Linked DNA regions of Homo sapiens: region 2 is linked to region 1. Evidence: promoter capture Hi-C in human tissues and cell types (Jung and others, 2019). All regions are on one chromosome and are shown on one strand. Each heading gives the region's core, a stretch centred on a gene start or on the middle of the fragment in contact. The rest is flanking DNA. Distances are from core to core; before and after follow the strand shown. Region 1 holds the start of MFSD8 (major facilitator superfamily domain containing 8). Region 2 has its middle 26 kb from the start of PLK4.

The links. The method cuts DNA at HindIII sites, captures the fragments that hold promoters and counts their contacts. A contact is called where the count stands out against the background at its distance.
Region 2: a contact is called between a fragment that was not itself captured here and the fragment with the promoter of MFSD8 in region 1, in 1 of the 25 tissues and cell types used here (H1 embryonic stem cells).

The regions. Positions count from the first base shown.
Region 1 is chr4:127,963,749-127,966,448 of GRCh38, reverse strand. It overlaps MFSD8 (major facilitator superfamily domain containing 8), which reads left to right and starts at 1,276. Exons shown (of 12, transcript NM_001371596.2): 1 at 1,276-1,377. The coding sequence starts at 1,316. It overlaps ABHD18 (abhydrolase domain containing 18), which reads right to left and starts at 1,043. Exons shown (of 13, transcript NM_001358451.3): 1 at 843-1,043. RefSeq lists enhancers at 1-165, 844-1,459, 1,050-1,469 and silencers at 560-789, 1,910-1,959, 1,970-2,099, 2,210-2,319. The HindIII fragment of the contact is 8,084 bases long and covers 1-2,700 here.
Region 2 is chr4:127,905,786-127,908,485 of GRCh38, reverse strand. No RefSeq gene overlaps it. Among named protein-coding and RNA genes, the nearest start is that of PLK4, 26 kb to the right of the region's middle. The HindIII fragment of the contact is 8,501 bases long and covers 1-2,700 here.

The DNA.
Region 1 (2,700 bases), core at 27-2,526:
GCATAGGGTAAATGCTCATAAATATTAATTTAAAAAAATTAAGTTTGGTTTCCAACTTTGCCACTTCCACACAGAGTGACTCTGGGTTAACTTGTCTGGATCTTAATTTTCAGTAAACTAGCAATGTGTCTGCTTCGCCTATCTCATAGGATACTTGTGATCAAATGAAATTACATGACAATGTATCTGGCGCTAATAAAACGGTAATTTATGAGACACAGAATGACTACTGACGCCAGCTAGCCTACAAGCCTAATAGTAGAGATAAGATGTTAATACATAACCACCAAGAAATAAACATGGAGATCTAGTGAAAACCCATGACATGTTTTCTAAAAATGTCATCTTCCTTGTGACGAAAGGAGCTGGTCATTGCTAGGCAGGTGCTGTACCTTTTTCAACTCCCACGTTTCAGCAGCAGGCTCTGCTGAGTGACATTTTGCAAGGCTGAGGCCCCCGTAGGCGCAGGCGCCGTTGGGGTGCGCATCCGGGGACCTGCAGGTTACAAGCAGCAGATCCCACCTTCAGTCCTGGCTCTGACAAGCCCTCCAGGTAAGGCGCCTTTGCATTTAGCCGAGCTAGAGAAGAGAGCTGGAAGCCACCTCTACCTTTCACGGGGGGAAGGGACTGCCCGCGCGCTCGCCCCCATTATCTCAGCCCTCCGAAGCGCGCCACGGACTCCAGCCTTGTCTCTCACCCCCAGCCTCACCCCGCGTCCCTGACCCGCGAGTCTCCCGCCCAGCTCCGCGTCCCCGGTCCCTGCCTCCAGGCGCGTACACGGCGCGCTAAGAGGCGCGGGGAGCTCTTAGCGCACCTACTACTTAACCGGACCGGCTACTTACTGGCCGCCAGGTGGAAGCCTGCGATCGAGCTGGCCGGGCCTCCCAGCACCGCCGCTCTCCAGGCTCCCTTTCCAGGACTCAACTTTGGTCCCAGCCCCAATCGCAGCTCCGGTAACCTTTCCAGGAACCGAAATGCTAGATACAGCGGAAGGAGAAACGGAGGGAGGAAGACAAACCCGGAGCAGGGCGGCGCGGCAGTTTGGACACGCCCCGAGCTCTCCTGGGCTCTCAGTCCCCGTCAGGATGGGAGGCGCGTGCCGAGGGAGGAGGCTGAGGACACAGCCTCCTTTCGCCCTGCGCTGCCCGGCCTTCCGCGTGACCCCGCCTATGACCTCGGGGCGTTCCGCCTACGTCTGACCGTCAGGTGCGCACGCGCACTTACAGGCTTGTTTTGCCAGCTTCACGCCACCCGGGATGGGAGAAAGCAGGTGTCGCGAGAGTTGGGCGCAAGACGCCTTGTAGGGAGTGTAACTATGGCCGGCCTGCGGAACGAAAGTGAACAGGAGCCGCTCTTAGGCGACACACCTGGAAGCAGGTGAGCGGATCCTGGTGGAGGGACCCCTCAGTCTCCTGCGCTGTTGGGACTGGTTCCTTTCCGGGCGTCACCCGCACTGGGACAAACCCTCGCTGCCAGAGGGGTTCCAGCGCGGTGGGAGCCGGTGGCTGGGTTGTGTGAGCCGAGGAGATTCGCTCCCAACGTAGGAGAAAGGGCGTCTGGCCGCACCGTGCGGTGATGAGCCCGTGGGTTCGAGTGACGGGGCTGGAGAAACCCAGGCTGCTGCTTTGCCTGTTGCAGCACCCAAGCTGAGAGGTGACAGCGTGCTGGCAGTCCTCACAGCCCTTGCTCGCTCTCCAGGCCTCCTCTGCCTGGGCTCCCACTTTGGCGGCACTTGAGGAGCCCTTCAGCCCACCGCTGCACTGTGGGAGCCCCTTTCTGGGCTGGCCAAGGTGGGAGCCGGCTCCCTCAGCTTGCAGGGAGGTGTGGTGGGAGAGGCGTGAGCGGGAACCGGGGCTGCGCGCCGCGCTTGCGGGCCAGCTGGAGTTCCGAGTGGGCGTGGGCTTGGCGGGCCCCGCACTGGGAGCAGCAGGCCGGCCCTGCCGGCCCCGGGCAATGAGGGGCTTAGCACCCGGGCCAGCGGCTGCGGAGGGTGTGCTGGGTCCCCCAGCAGTGCCAGCCCACTGGCGCTGCGCTCGATTTCTCGCCGGGCCTTAGCTGCCTTCCCGCGGGGCAGGGCTCGGGACCTGCAGCCCGCCATGCCTGAGCCTCCCACCCACTCCGTGGGCTCCTGTGCGGCCCGAGCCTCCCCGATGAGCGCCGCTCCCTACTCCACGGTGCCTAGTCCCATCGACCACCCAAGGGCTGAGGAGTGCGGGTGCACGGCGCGGGACTGGCAGGCAGCTCCACCTGCAGCCCCGGTGCGGGATCCACTGGGCGAAGCCAGCTGGGCTCCTGAGTCTGGTGGAGACGTGGAGAACGTTTATGTCTAGCTCAGGGATTGTAACTACACCAATCGGCACTCTGTATCTAGCTCAAGGTTTGTAAACACACCAATCAGCACCCTGTGTCTAGCTCAGGGTTTGTGAATGCACCAGTCGACACTCTGTATCTAGCTACTCTGGTGGGGCCTTGGAGAACCTTTCTGTCAACACTCTGTATCTAGTTAATCTAGTGGGGACGTGGAGAACCTTTGTGTCTAGCTCAGGGATTGTAAACGCACCAATCAGCGCCCTGTCAAAACAGACTACTCGGCTCTACCAATCAGCAGGATGTGGGTGGGGCCAGATAAGAGAATAAAAGCAGGCTGCCCACCAGTAGTGGCAACCCGCTGAGGTCCCTTTCCACAGTGTGGAAGCTTTG
Region 2 (2,700 bases), core at 155-2,654, 58 kb after region 1:
AGCAAAATATACTTTTATATGCTGCAAATGGAAGTGTAAAAAAATTAGGCGTTATCTACTAAAGTTTGACATACACAAATCGTAAGATTACTAAATTCATTGCAGTAAAATCCTAGAGAAACTTGTATGTAGCTGCACCAGAAGATGTTCATAAAGTATATATTTACAGCCAAAATCTGGAAACAACTCAAATGTCCATCAACAGTATAACATATAAACAAACTGCTGTACATTCCTACACTGGAAAACTACAAAGGAACCAGTCCAGGTAGAAAAAGGAAAGCAGAGAGATGTCTCCAAAAGAGGGGATAAATGGATCAACAAAAAAGCACAGACAGATTACCTGACATATCAGAGAAAACAAAAGAATTCCAGAAAAAAAATTGTTCAAGAAATATAATTCTAGCATAGTACATAGTTCAGCTGTGAGTATTTTCTTTTTTTCTTTTTCTTTCTTTTTTTTTTTTTGAGATGGAGTTTCGCTTTTGTTGCTCAGGCTGGAATGCTATGGTGCGATCTCGGCTCACCGCAACCTCTGCTTCCTGGAGTTTCTCCTGCCTCAGCCTCCAGAGTAGCTAGGATTACAGGCATGTGCCACCATGCCTGGCTAATTTTGTATTTTTAGTAGAGATGAGGTTTCTTCATGTTGGTCATGCTGATCTCGAACTCCCGACCTCAGGTGATCCGCCTCCCTTGGCCTCCCAAAGTGCTGGGATTACAGGTGTGAGCCACTGCGCCTGGCGGAGCTATGAATATTTTCATAGTCACAGTAATATAAACATTGAATATTAAACTACCACCATACCCCTCCCCCAGAGAAAACGAGTAGAGAGAAAAAAGGGGATTAAAGGAAACTCAGCTTGAAAGAAGTAACAGGAAAAAAAGAAAAGCAAAGCAAAAATATAGTACATGCTAGAAAGCACAAAATTAATTGCTAGACATAAATCCAAATAGAACTGTAATGACAATAAGACAGCCAGAAATAACAATATATGTAAAAATTAGAAGTTATTAAATTGTAATCAAAATAAAATTTAGCTATATGTTATGTATAAGAAAAATACTTAAAAAATAGACTCACTCATAAAGACGAAGAGATAATAAAAAGTATACTAGTTAACATCTGTCAAAGCAGAAATGTATGTTTTGAGTCATTGGCCTTTAAAATTTAGCTCAGGCCAGGTGCGGTGGCTCACGCCTGTAATCCCAGCACTCTCGGAGGCCGAGACAGGTGGATCACTTGAGGTCAGGAGTTCGGGACCAGCCTGGCCAACATGTTGAAACCCCATCTCTACTAAAAATACAAAAATTAGCTGGGCATGGTGGCACATGTCTACAATTCCAGCTATTTGGGAGGCTGAGGCAGATGAATCGCTTGAACCTGAGAGGCAGAGGTTGCAGTGAGCCGAGATCATGCCACTGCACTCCAGCCTGGGTGACAGAAGGCGACTCCGTCTAAAAAAAATAATAAAATAAAATAAAATTTAGCTCGGGATTACTTTATTTCCATTTTTATTTTATTTATTTTTGAGACAGAGTCTTGCTCTGTTGCCCAGGCTGGAGTGCAGTGGCATGATCTTGGCTCACTGCAACCTCTGTCTCCCAGGTTCAAGCAATTCTCCTGCCTCAGCCTCCCGAGTAGCTGGGATTACAGGCGTGTGCCACCATGCCCAGCTAATTTTTGTATTTTTAGTAGAGATGGGGTTTCACCATGTTTGCCAGGCTGGTCTTGAACTCCTGACCTCAAGTGATTCACCCGCCTTGGCCTCCCAAAGTGTTAGGATTACAGGCATGAGCCACTGTGCCTGGCATTTTATTTCAATTTTTAAAGGGAAATTGTTATTACTGATCATATTTTCTCTAAGGGCTTACATCCTTCCTTTCCCCAAAGTTGGATTATCAATGTGGTAATTCTTATAGATACTGCCATATTACTTTCACAGTTATCATTTACACCCTAATCAACACCTGAGAATGTCTTATACATATTGTGAGCATTATTATTTCAATTTTTTTTTTTTTTTTAAAGACAGAGCCTTGCTCTGTCACCCAGGCTGGAGTGCAGTGGCGCTATCTCAGTTCACTGCAACCTCCACCTCCCGGGTTCTAGAGATTCTCGTGCCTCAGTCTCCCAAGTGGCTGGGATTAGAGGCGTGCACCACCTAACCTCGCTAATTTTTGTATTTTTAGTAGAGACACTGCTTCACCATGTTGGCCAGGCTGGTATTGAACTCCTGACCTCAGGGGACCTGCCTGCCTTGGCCTCCCAAAGTGCTGGGATTACAGGCATGAGCCACTGCACTGGGCTATTACTTAATCTTAAACCCATTCTTTGATAAAGGAAAATTATTATCTTGCTTTAACTTTGCATTTCCCCAACTTTTATGAGGTTGAGCATATTTCCTTTTTATTGACCATATGGACTTCCTTCCTTTGTGAACTATCAATTCATATGTCTTGTCCATTTTTCTACTGTGTGACAACAGAAAATTTCCTTCAATCCCCTTTTTTCTGTTACTGGTTTTCTCTGGGAGAGGGGTATGGTGGTAGTTTAATATCAGTTCTGCAATTTATGTTGCAAATATAAGTATTATTTTTCTTCCTTATTGTCTGAGGCAAAAACCTCCAAAACAATGTTGAATAATCATAACATTGTCTACTTGTCTACTTAAAAGAAACAGCTCTAATATTTCTGATTAT